3 separate regions of the Homo sapiens genome follow, and all the other regions are linked to region 2. Evidence: promoter capture Hi-C in human tissues and cell types (Jung and others, 2019). All regions are on one chromosome and are shown on one strand. The core of a region is centred on a gene start or on the middle of the fragment in contact, and the rest is flanking DNA. Distances in the headings are between cores, read along the strand shown. Region 1 overlaps LRRC49 (leucine rich repeat containing 49). Region 2 holds the start of CT62 (cancer/testis associated 62). Region 3 overlaps LRRC49 (leucine rich repeat containing 49).

Region 1 (4,443 bases), core at 326-2,825, 200 kb before region 2:
GGCACTGAGATGGAAAACAACACAGTAAGTATTTACCACCAGAGAACAGAGCATGTGTGGAAGGATGCTGAGAGAAGAGACTAGAAAGGTAGGCAACGGCCAGATTGTGGAGGGCTTTGTATGCCAGGCAAATTAATTGGTGTTTTATCCTGTATTTTAAAAACTGTTTATAACTATAAATGAAACATTTTATGATAGCAGTATTTTTCTTGTTTATTTTAAAGTGTATACATGAGAAATAATAAACATATGATTTTCAAATTCTAATATATCTTTAAGAGTTTGTGAGTACTACCCAAGATCTTCAAGAGCACCTGATAAATGAATACCATATCATTTGATCTGTACCTTATGTATAGGCATTATTTACCAATCATTATGTTGATGAAAAATGTCTGTTCCTTGTTAGCTGACCTGTGTTATATATTTTATAATTTCAGCATATGTTTGTGATATTGTGTGTGTTAAAATTAAACATTTGTAGTGCACAAATTACTTCTCAAGGTTCTTCCAGTTATAGAACCTTGAGAAGTAATTTGTGCAGTACAAATGTTCTATAACTGGAAGAAGAAAGTTTTAAATGAAAATCTGAGTCTTGTTTCATAATATATGAATCCAAATAGCAAAAATTCACAGTATTTCAAAGCAAAGATACAGTCTTAGTTACCTTAGGTTTCTAAAAAGCCAGGAAGGAACTATTCTAGATGAAACAACTAATGTCCAATTCTAAAAATTTAGCATCTTATAGTAAAGAAGCTAAAAGACATTAAGTGAATGTTTTTTGTCTTTTGAATTTACTTCTATTGGTAATAAAAATATGCTTGGTGCACATTGTGAAATAAAACATAATTGGTTTATGGATGTGAAATCATTCTGAGTAATGATGATGGTGTTCAGGAAATGGATTGGGAAGTAGAGATGGAAGGAGGGGAAATGGAGACAAAACAGTTGGGAGAAACTAATTACAATAATCTTGGCGAGAAGTGATGGTGGCATGAACTAAAGTAGTAGCAATAAGGATATGATAAGGGGGCAGATTGGATAAATATTTAAAAAGTAGAAACATCAAGACTTAGCAATTAATTATATATGAGTAGTGAATACAGAGGAATCTAGGAGGTTGAGTAGGAATTTCTAACCTAGAGCTTGTGTTGGTTAACCATAATTTTTTCTCTCAGTGAATTTTTGCTTTAACATAGACACAGATGTGCTTCAAGAAGAATCTGTTCTTTCAGTGATCTCTTTTCCTCCAGGGAGAGCCTGCTATTTCTGTGGCTGCTTACCTGAAAGCAAACACTTGCCTTTTCTGTATTGGTAGGTAGGAAGGTTATCTTTATCCAGGCAGAGCAATCTAGGTTACTCTCATACACAAAGGTTAAGACTGGAGTATCCAGCTTTCCTAGATGTATTAAGAAGCCTTGCAGACTATATTGGGACACTCTCTGATCTGTATGACCCATAAATGGGCTTTCCAACATTCCCATCATCTTTTTTCTTGCTGTGAAGTATATCAATCAATCAAGACCTATGCTGTCACTTTATACAACCCTTTGCCTGAAGCTTCTATTATCTGCTTTATGCTTGTGACTTTGTCCATGGCTGTAACGAGTAATTGACTTTATTCCATAGCAGATGTTGTACATGATTCTGGCCTGTTGGGTTGCAAACCAAGAAGCCAGATAATATTCTTAGTGATTTTTAAAATATGGGTCTATATACAAGAATTAACCATGTTTCTTTTCAGACTTTTCTAACTAGAAGGTAACTAAATGCAGGCATTCTAATTGTAAGCCCCACCAGGACCATGTGGAAGGGTAGTTTTCTAAAAGAAATGTCCAGAACTATTAGCAGAAGGGAGAAAACACACCGTGCAGATCATACAATTGTCCCCCATAACTCTATATATTTATATATTTCTTGAGCTCAGGAAAGTTTTCTATATTTAAACACTGCTTCTTTTCCATTTATGTTTGTTATATCTGTATTGTTTGTCTTCCATCTCTCCATCTTATCTTTTATTCTTCCTCTCTGTTTTTCCTTAGCATTTTGGGAGGATTTCTAAGCTTGCGCTGACATTACTGATTACTTTTTCTACAGTATCTATTTTCCTTTTTACTGGCTTCTTGCATTTTAAATTCTATCACCTGTTTAGTTTTAAAATATTTTACTCCATGTCTTATTACACAGTTTTATCATCTGTTAATACTCATAATCTTGTTTCTTTTTCAACTTTTATATAATTTTATCTTTACATTAGTTAAATCAAAAATCTTAAAACACATTTTAAACGTGGTCATAGGTTACTTTTATATATTATTGAATTTATAATAAACATGTTTCTTTTCTGGAAACTGGATGGAACCTAGATGGTGTTTCTTGAATATAAGAGTGTCCAAATAACAATGTGAAATATAGATTAGACATCTGAGAAAAGTTCTTTTAGCTAACATCTGCTTTGAAGTGTTAGTAAGAAATTTCAAATATACTGTGATGGCAATACAAATGAGCAAATTAATCTCTAGTGATTGTGAAATTCATTTTAATGTTCATCAGGTTTATGAAGTCCTCCATGAGGACTTCTATTTTGTGTCATGCAGAAACTCATCCCATTGTGCTACACTTGCTCTATTATAATAGTGGGGCTTAACATCACTTTGAGCTCTCATCACTTCACAGTGTTAGTTTTTACTTACCCTCTCCTTAGTGTGCAGCTCAAACTTCTCTGCTGCAGTTCAGTGCTGATTATTTATTATTATTATTATTATTTTTGAGGTGGAGTTTCGCTCTGTCGCCCAGGCTGGAGTGCAGTGGCGTGATCTTGGCTCACTGCAACCTCTGCCTCCTGGGTTCAAGTGATTCTCTTGCCTTAGCCTCCTGAATAGCTGGGATTACAGGCCCATGCCACCACACCTGGCTAGTTTTTGTATTTTTAGTAGAGACAGGGTTTCACCATGTTGGTCAGGCTGGTCTCAAACTCCTGACCTCAAGTGATCCACCTACCTCAGCCTCCCAAAGTACTGGGATTACAGGTGTGAGCTACCGCGCCTGGCCTCAGTGCTGATTATTAACGGCAGCAGCAGGCCATCTGGAGTGGCTGCTGCCATCAGGCCAGCTGCAGCAGGGAGGCGTGGCTGGGGCTGTGGGCTCCATGGAGCCAGGTGGACCTGGGGACAAGTGGGAGCCCTGCCCCTTCCGAGTTGGGGCGGGAGCTCCCCGGGTGCTGCTGCAGCCACTCAAGTCACGGCTGCAGACCTGGGCATCCCTGTGCTGTTGGGGCCAGGAAGCAGGCAGGAGCCCCGCCCTCCTGGGTACAGCTGCAGCCTCCCAAACTGCAGCTGTGGACCCAGGCATCTCTGCACTCTTGGGGACGCAGAAAGTACCCCCCAACCCTCACTCTCCCGACAGGTTCTGAAGTGTTTGTTTCTGCTGTCTGGCTTCTCCCTGCTGTTGGTGCCTGCTCCAATCTCAGAGCAAAGTTGTGGTTGAGCCTGGGTGCTGTGGCAGCCTGGCCAAGTGTGCACATGCTTGGGGCAGTGCTTACACACCAGTCCCTTGCCACCTCAGCTCCCTCTGAACTTTTGGTGCCAACAAGCATAGAAGGGAATCTGAGGGGGGCTGAGGGCAGCTAGGTGCTGGCCTGCAGGTGCCCCTTCATACTTATAGCCTGGGCACCATGAACAGCAGCAGGAAGCAGACAGTTGCCTGAGCAGAAGGGGGCAGGTCCCTGGTGACTCCCTACCTTCAGGCCAGACTGCCACTCCCACCGACTGGAGTGGGAACTTGTGGTACCTTTTCTGGGCCTGCCTGTGGCCGCCCATGGGCCAATCAGCACTCACTTCCTCTACCCTGAAGCCCATAAAAGCCCTGGACTCAGCCAGTGCTGAGCAGACATTGGGATAACCAGCTGTAGAGAGGACCAAAGTACTCTAGGGCCCTCTCTCTGTTGACAGCTGTAGAGACATTGGGATGACCATCTGCAGAGAGGAGCAACTCACTCTAGGGCTTCCTCTCTGCTGAGAGCTGCAGAGTTGATGGGATGACCAGTTGCAAAGAGGGGCTGCCCTTTCTGCTGATAGCTGAACACTTGTCAAGATGACTTTCCTAGTACAGAGGAGCTACCCTCTCTGCTAGGAGCTGAACACTCATCAGAACACCCTGGCTGTGGAAAGGAGCTGCTCCCTGTGGGTTTCCTCTGAGCTGTTCTATCACTTAAGAAGCTCCTCTTTGTCTTGCTCACCCTCCACTTGTCTGCATACCTCATTCTTCCTGGTCGCAGGACAAGAACCTGGGACCCACAGAATTTGGGACCCCAGAATGGCAAGGCTAAAAGAGCTATAACACAAACAGGGCTGAGACATGCCCCTTGCTCGCCATGTTGCAGGCAAAGAGAAGGAAACTGTGGCCCTTCAGGTCACCTAGACTTGAGAGCTCCCCAAGCCAGGG
Region 2 (4,413 bases), core at 1,328-3,827:
TCAGCACTTTGGGAGGCCAAGAACGGAGGATCACTTGAGCTCAGGAGTTTGAGACCAGCCTGGGCAACACAGCAATACCTCCTTTCTACTAAAAATAAAAAATGAAAAAAAAATTAGTCAAATGTGGTGGCGCACGCCTGTAGTCTCAGCTACCTGGGAGGCCGCAGTGAGAGGATTGCTTGAGCCCAGGAGGTGGAGCCTGCAGTGAGCTGCAATCATGCCACTGCACCCCAGCCTGGGTGACAGAGCAAGACACTCTCTCAAAATAAATAAACAAATAAAACAAGTATTATCTTGACTTTAAAGAAAGAGACTTTCTTGTGACATATAAGCAAAATATGGTCAAAACAATTTGACCAAGGTTGAAAATGGACTGGAATCACTTCTAAGGAGCCAGCCTAGGTCTGTCGAATCAAGTTTGCTCACTAATAATCATACTTTGGTTATGTCGGATGTTAACATTAGAGGAAGAGGGTGGGGGATATAAGGGGATTCTTTGTACTATTTGTGAAACTTGTCTAAAATTATTTCAAAATTAAAAAATAACAAACAAAACCACATCCTTTGCTCCTGAGCCCTGTTCGCCCCAGACATTATGTGATGAACTCACTCCGTTCTTTAAGATCCAGCTCTGCAGAGCATCTCAGATTCCCTGTCCTGAGGCAGGTACTCCTGTATGAGCTCTTAAATACTTCTGCATTTACCTACCACCTACTGGTATGGTTTTCTGACTATATTTCATCTTCTTCGCCTCACGTGGAGTTTCTTTTAGAATGGAAAGTTTTCTTCCTTTCCTCTTTGAATCCTAGCACCAAGGCCACACTCGGCACTGAATACCTGTCTCGAATGAATGAATAAATCAATCTTGTTTGAACAAATCTTATTAGTTTTGCTTTTTTAAAATTATGGTAAAATGTACATAACATAAAAATTTCCATTTTAACCATTTTTAAGTGTATAATTCAGTGACATTAAGTACATTCTAAAGTTGCGCAGGTTTTTTTTTTTAAATCAGTTCTAAATGGTTTAAACTGGCCAGTATTTACTAGAGCTGTTAGATCGACTTAATTTGGACCCATGAGACTCGTGACACTCAGAATTAATCTAATCCCATTTACACCAGGTGCCTCCCATCAAAATCTGTTTGATCAAGTGTGGAATTATTTCATCCCATTGGAACCAGCTCTTGAATCAATCAGAACTGGCTCTGCCAGGCTCCGGGCCAGTAGTCGGTGCTCAAAATGGTGTTTCTTTCTTTGGCCTAATCTCTTGAGTAGCCTCTTTCCCTTTTGTTAATTTTTTTTTTTTTCTGGAGGACAATCTTCCCTGGGAGCTCCCTTCTGCTCCCACGAAGCGCTCTGCACCCAGCCCTGGTGCTGCCTGGCTCTGGGGCAGGGAGCTTGCATTCTGCCACCTCCTTCATTGTCCTCTCGGTATACCTGCACTTTCAAAACAACCCCTGCAGGCAAGCTTTAGAGGCAGCGATAAACAAACAGGCTGACTGAAATTTAGGGAAACGCCTGTATCTGGACAGCCTCTTCAAATATTTGTCACCCCCTCCCTGCTCTGGGGAAAGAAGAGACAGTTCCTCACAGTCACTCTATTTCCTGCCTTCCCAGCTCTGAACACCTTGGCTCGAATGTAAAGAATTTGGCTCTGAATTAGGACTCAAGAAACGGGGCCCTAGCAATTTTCCCTCCATTAACTAAACGCGTCACTTTGGTCATGCCCTTTTGGGGGCAATAATTTCCCAATTCGTAAAATGAAGGGATCAAAGTTTGATTTTTATCATTACTAATGAGAAGAATTATTATTTTTTTGCAGCAGGCTTTTTTTTCCCCAACAAAATATTACTCTGAATAAGACAAGAAAGAATCCCGAACGGCTCTGGCCGTCAGGGTGTGTGTGTCTCCTCCCCATGCTGTCTAACCCCCGTTGGAATTTGGAGGGCTCTTGTCCTTTCCCCTTGGCCTCAGAAGGAGCCCAGCGCGTCCTACCTTGCGTGGGAGTGTGTGTGTGACCAGGGCTCCTTCCTGCCCTTAGAGTCACCGCCCCCTTCTCGCACAGGTTTACAGCACCACTTGCCTCGCCCACTCCCCGCTTTGCCTCCGCCCCATCCTGATGCTGCCGGAATGGCTGTTCCAAATGGAAGGATGCCCGCGTCCGTCCCCTGCCCCAGTCCTTCAACAGGTCCCCACAGACCTCAGGATAAGATGAACGCGGAATTCAGGGCCTGGTCTCAACCGCCCTCTCCCTTTTCCTCTCACTTAGACGACCCTGGCCAGCTGGGCCACTCTCCACTCTCGCCCCCTCCCGCCCTCGTGGCCTCTGTCTAGACCGTACTCCCTCCTACTGGGTGATGTCTCTTCCCCTGGGACCCAGGGACCATCCCGTTGTTGACCTCCGGGGTCAGGGGTGCGGATGGGGGCCGGCCCTTCCCGCGGTCGCCGCCAGGGGGCGGCAGGAGCGGCTCCAGATGACAGCGGGAGGCCGCAAGAGGGGAGGGAGGAAGGACCGAGGGAGCGCGGATCCCGCTCTCGGATCGCAAACTCTGAGCCAGAGCTCTCCGCGCGCGCCTGAACCGCTGGCCGCCCGCGCAGCCCGACGCGGAATCGGGGCACAGCGGGAGCCCGTGCAGGGCGGGCGCGGGGCGGCTGGGCGGCGGTGGCGGCCGTCCATGCGGCGGCGCTCGGGGCTGCCCGGCGCCGGGAACCACGCGGGGGCGAGGCGAGGCGAGGCGGCCGCCGGTCGCTCCGGGACGCGGACCGCCAGGTGAGCAGAGCCGCGCGCCCCGCGTCCCCTGCGCGCCGCCCGCGCGGCCCCGACCCGGCTTCCGCTGCCCAGGCTCCGGCTCCCGCTCTCTGGCCGGCGGGGCGGGCTGGCGCGGGCTACCCAGTGGGTGTGTCCGGGGCGCCGCGGGCTGCGCCGCTCCGGGCTCGGGGAGCCAGCGCGCGCCTGGTCCGTGCGGACGGCTGCGCCTCCTTCTCTGGTTCTCTTCCTTGCTGGGAGTCTTGCTCTGTGCTGGCGCCGGCGCTCATCCCTCCACCCTCGACTCTAGGGACAGTCTTAAACTCTAGGGACAATCCACCTCAGTCGTCCCCGGGTCGGGGCCCCGTGCTCCCCGGGTCGGGTCGGAGGGGACCGGCGAGTGCACACCCAGCCCGTGCGCCCCCCACCTCAGCCTCGCCTCCCTCCCGCCTGGGGCCCGAGAGCCGGGCAAGTCTCGGTCAGCGCTCCTTGAGTCCTGGCCTGGGGCCTCGGATCTGTGTGTCTGTCTGTCTCAGTTTAGTTGCTGCAACCCAGCGAGCGCCTGGAGCCCGAGTGGATGGGTTGTTTCCGCCAACTCTGGACACTTCCTCAAGTGCAGCCTAAGTACCTGCGGCCCCTTGGCGCACTTACAGAAGTAGCTTTTGCACAGCGAGCTCACCTTGGAGCTCTACAGATCTGGAAGTTAAGTTTTCTTTTTATTTGAAATAACATCAGCCCTCACTTGGGAAGGGGATTTTAGGGCGTTCTCGGGCCCACCTAAGTATCTGGAATTTGTGGTCTAGTAAGTTTTTTAAGCAGTCCGCACCCAGCACCGTACCTCCCAGCCTCCTTTGCCGTCTTACTAAAAGTGCATGCTTGCTTCTCTTCCTGTCTCCTTTGCGATCTCTACCACGCTGCGCTTCGCCCTTTTCGGGCTATGAGTCTAAAGCTTGGACGTGGGTAGCAATCATTGGATGCCTGTTGGAATTTGGAATTAGAGAAATAGATACCCGAGAGAGATCTAAGGAATCGCCTTGTCCAACCCTCCTTTCACAGTTGGAGGCACCCAGGACCCCTGACAGTCTGAAGATTTTTCAAGGATCACACAGCTTTTAAAATCCGCGTGTCTTCTACTTGATTAATATTGTTGGAGGTGATGGAGTAACTGGGCTTACTAGGGTCTTACTGGGTCTCAATATACAAAGAAGCAAACATTTTAAAAATGTGACTTAAAATACGGAACTCTTCAATTCCTATAGATTTTTGTTGGCATCATAGTTGAATTCCTTTAGAAAACAAAATCCTAGCCCTGAAATTAATGTGAGGAAGCAAGCAGATGGGCGTCCTGGGACTTTCCTATAAATCTCTGCAGGGCTGGAGCAGGGATTTCCCAGAGGTCTGGGCCTGGGAAATGAGTTTGGGTGATCAGGATACTGGAGCCCCTTCTGAATAAGCAACTGGGTTGGTTTCTTGTGGGGAGGCTGGCCAGTGGAACTCATGTGATCTCCTCTGTGCCCAGCACTGGGCGGGGCACCAGCTTGGCATTACCTTCTTTTTAGTCTCCTATGCCATAAAGAAATATTTCTTACTGGCTGTTAGCGAAAGAAAAATACAGCCCAGAGTTTGGGAGGAAGATCAGGGGTGGGGAGATTTTTGACTTGGAGT
Region 3 (4,076 bases), core at 147-2,646, 180 kb before region 2:
TTGTTGTGCCTCGAGGCAAAGGTAGGACCAAGAAGAGGGAGAGAGATGGGGGAAGTGCCAGTGAGTGGAGCAGTCAGAACACACATTTGTTGATTAAGTTTGCAACCTTCTATGGGCACAGTTTGTGATGCCCCAAAACAATTGCAATAGTAATATCACAGATCACTGATCACGGATAATCATAACAAATATAATAATAATAAAATTTGAAATATTGTGAGAACTACAAAAATGTGACCTAGAGACGAAGTGAGCACATGCTGTTGGAAAAATGGCACTGACTTGGTTGATACAGGATTGCCACAAACCTTCAATTTGTAAAATTTAAAAAAAAGCACAATATCTGCAAAGCATAATTAAACGAGGCATGCATGTACCTTATTTTTTCTTGTTTTTAATTTTTTTCATTGCTCTTATAAATTTAAAGATAAATATTCCATAGTCTTTATCAAGTTACTATATTTTCTTAATTTTTTGGCATTTCTTCATCTGTTGCCTGAAAGTTCTACTGACTGTTACTCATGGTAATTTTTTCTTTATAGTTTAATAGTTTGGAATAGTCAGGATGTTGCAAAGCCTGAGTTGAATTCGTGTCCTTCTAGACAGTTTTGCCAGGAGTGTTAGGGTCATGAATGCCAGGTACCATTTTTTATGAGGGGTCTTTTTAGATTATGTTTGTGATGTAAGTTTGAACTGTAAATTCCAGTGAGGGAAAGCCTATGGTTATGAAATTGAGGCTTTTTATTGATTTCCTCAAAGCTGTTAAATCTAGCTCTCCTAGATTATAAAGACTGGACATTTCCCTAATTAGTCAGCATATCAGTGCCTTCTTACTGGTCTGGTTTTAAGTTCCCTTTCAGTTTTTGCTCTGGGGTATTAAAACAGTGTGTAGAAGAAAATCAGACTGGTGAATTGACTGATATCTATTGCTGTGTAATGGGTAGTAAACAAGTACAAAAACCAGATAAACCCATTAATGCCTTTGGATAACTGCCAAATAATGGACTTTTTTCATTGGCATTTATATATATGATTAGAGTTTTAATATGATGGCTTGCAGCTATTAGTCCTCATATAATAAGTGTCTGTGTCACAAAGTGATAGGTGAAGCAAGTAGTTATTTTGGAATTAATTTAATAAGTCTTTTTTTTAAAAAGGAATACTTCATTGTTTTTTGTTTCCAAGCTTGTTTGATGCTTTGTGAATGAATCTGTTTACAGCTCTCAAAGTTAGAATAATTACCCCTATATATTTTTACTCTAACTTGTTTTGTATGAAAGCCTACATAGTAAAAATGAGAGTAGCTATGATTTTATTATAGACATCTTTGCCCTACTTGTTGCATGTCAGAATCCTTGGTGCATGTCAAAATCTGTTCACCTTTCTTCTTCCTTATTCCTCTAGAGGAAGCTGCTCTAAAAATAGCTCCAGTGATAGATATTCCCCACGTGATCAGATTGCTGAATCATTTAGTTCTTTTCTTTTCTTTTTTCTTTCTCTGTCTTTTTTTTTTTTTTTTTTTTTGAGATGGAGTCTTGCTCTGTTGTCCAGGCTAGAGTACAGAGGCGCAATCTCGGCTAACTGCAACCTCCGCCTCCCTCGTTCAAACAATTCTCCCGTCTCAGCCTCCCAAGTAGCTGGGACTATAGGCACACGCCTCCGTGCCTGGCTAATTTTTGTATTTTTAGTAGAGATGGGGTTTCACCACACTGGTCAGGCTGGTCTCGAACTCCTGATCTCAAATGATGCACCCACCTCACCTCCCAAATTGCTGGGATTACAGGCACAAGCCACCACACCTGGCCATTTAGTTCTTTTATGCAGTTTAGGGATATGGACAACAGTGCCTGAGCAGAGTAGGACAAGCATTTTTCTCAGAAAACAAATCAGTATTTTTTTGGAAAATAAAGAATTATAATCCTCTCAAATAATCTTGTGGTAAATAATTTTTTCTATTTTTTAAAAGATTATATTTTCCAAATACATAAAATAGTTTTGAATTTTACTTCAAAAAATGTTTTGAATATTATTTTCAGTATTATGTTTTATTAAAAATAATAAATTTAAGATAATGAGGAAATTAATAACGAGCTATAAATATTCCCCTACATGTAAACATTTTATTTCATTTTTTTCCCTCTCATCTTAGGTATGTTAACATTCTGGCTTCTTTGTTATAGTTTCTCTGATGCTGAAATAGTTACCTCCAGAAAGGATATGTTAGGGGTATTTAATGCTTGACAGTAAAATAAATACTTTTTCTTAAATAGATGAGAATTTACCTTTCTTACATTATCCCTAACCCCCATTTCCACTTTCCCTGTCATTCCGAAATAATTTTTAGGTAAGCAGATTGTTGAGTGCTGGCTCCTGCAGAGTACCGCCAGAATGACTAGTTGATAAAGCAAAGGAGAAATTACTACTGGCAAGTAAAAGCACACTGCCTTGACATAGCCTTGGCTGTATCTTCGAAGGCAGAGACAGGAGATTTAGTTTGAAATTTCTTGGGGTTCTGGTTTAGGGTGGGTCTTTCAATGCAGGGGCTTAATGAAAATGGATACATTTATGATAGAATAGATTAGGATGGTTGACAAAGCACGGTGAGGTTTTCAAAGTGAGTCTTGGACCATGATGTTAAACTTTTGTTTTCCCTGAGATTAATAGCTGTCTCAATTTAGGGCTTGTTTAACTATCATTAATGTCCAAACTCTCCAACAAAACCCTAAAATCCCTTTCTGTATAGGCAAAGACTTCAGGTGATCTGTGTTTCATTTTTACCTCTTGGAGATACCCTTCTAGAGCCTCCTGTCCCCTGTCTAATGAAGTCTGCTTGCATTTAGCCCTGCTATACAGATTTCATCCTTGGATTTCTCTTTGCCTCTCCTAGATGATGAATTGTACTCCCTGAATCTTATATATATCCCATCTTTTGTTTACTCTCTTATATTAGAGGAGCCATCCCCTAGTAGTTTTTAACAGGTCTTTCTTCTGTAAATAATGCATGCATAGATAATTGATACGGTAAATACGGTGTTTTCTTTTTGTCTATTATAATGCTAGAATTTTGTTACAAAAGTATATCACAGAATTGCTAAAAAATTGGAGAAAAGTTAACATTTTCTTACAGAAATGAAATTTGGAACAACGAAAAATGATTGTGTATAATTATTTGCTTTTTAAAGTTCTGGAAAGGGTATCTATGTAAGTGATTATGAGGATATATAGAATTGAATTCTGCATTTTAGTGTTTCAACTTGTGAATATTTTTATATTTTTGATAACTCTACTAGGCAATGACATTTAATGATTTTTAAAATTTGATAAAGACGTAAAATTTTGTCTCATAAACAGAGATTAAATAATTATAATTTTGTCAAATAAACTTAAAAAACTTTTTCTCACAAATTATATCCTGATGGAATTTGAGTTTTCTATTTTTATTGAAAAAAGTTATGTCTTAGAAGGTGTTTATAATCTCTGAAGATGGCATGCTGGAGCTCAAAGGGACAGATGTATTTTTTAAATGAGATGCCTTGATTCAAAGGATTTAAAATGTATTTTTAAAGGCTGCTACCTCTCAGTTTCTCCAGGTTGAGTGCCAATAACAATGATTGTGCCCAGAAATATCTCAGGTAGATTCCAGGAAGAATCTGGGAGAAGAGATTTCCCCAGGAATACAGAGAGGGTTTTCAGTCTGGCTATGACTTCATGTTTCTAGAGACCAGATAGGCAGCAGGCTGCCATTTCCTTTGGAAACTAGGGCCCTGGAGTGAAATGAGCCCTACCACTAGTCTATCACTCCTCCTCCATTTATGGGAATATCAGAGAGAAGTAGCTGAAAGAGATGATTTTAAAAGTTTGCCAACATATGAAGTATATCACCTACTGAGGGAAATTTGGCTGCCCTCCTGTTTCCACAGACTTACTCCTTGGCCATGAAAAGCTCTAAAAATCATTATCTCACATCTGTGGAATAGGCTTCATGGGAGTGGGCCTGAGAATGGTAATGTCAAATGAATGGTATACATAGCCAGTGTATTGATCATGGGCTATTGTATTGATTTTACACTGTTTAG

Evidence for each region. Contacts are between HindIII fragments. The study calls those that stand out against the background at their distance.
Region 1: a fragment that was not itself captured here is called in contact with the fragment with the promoter of CT62 in region 2 in 2 of the 25 tissues and cell types used here (bladder and mesenchymal stem cells).
Region 3: a contact is called between a fragment that was not itself captured here and the fragment with the promoter of CT62 in region 2, in 2 of the 25 tissues and cell types used here (lymphoblastoid cells and mesendoderm cells).

Annotation. Positions count from the first base shown.
Region 1 is chr15:70,913,544-70,917,986 of GRCh38, forward strand. The region is part of intron 6 of LRRC49 (leucine rich repeat containing 49); the gene reads left to right. Among named protein-coding and RNA genes, the nearest start is that of LRRC49, 23 kb to the left of the region's middle. The HindIII fragment of the contact is 3,399 bases long and covers 1-3,275 here.
Region 2 is chr15:71,112,927-71,117,339 of GRCh38, forward strand. It overlaps CT62 (cancer/testis associated 62), which reads right to left and starts at 2,578. Exons shown (of 4, transcript NR_168260.1): 1 at 1,998-2,578; 2 at 705-837. THSD4 (thrombospondin type 1 domain containing 4) reads left to right here and starts at 2,545. Exons shown (of 18, transcript NM_024817.3): 1 at 2,545-2,772. RefSeq lists silencers at 2,359-2,408, 2,445-2,622, 2,469-2,528, 2,559-2,698, 2,849-2,938. The HindIII fragment of the contact is 8,632 bases long and covers 1-4,413 here.
Region 3 is chr15:70,931,224-70,935,299 of GRCh38, forward strand. The region is part of intron 7 of LRRC49 (leucine rich repeat containing 49); the gene reads left to right. Among named protein-coding and RNA genes, the nearest start is that of LRRC49, 40 kb to the left of the region's middle. The HindIII fragment of the contact is 3,552 bases long and covers 1-3,172 here.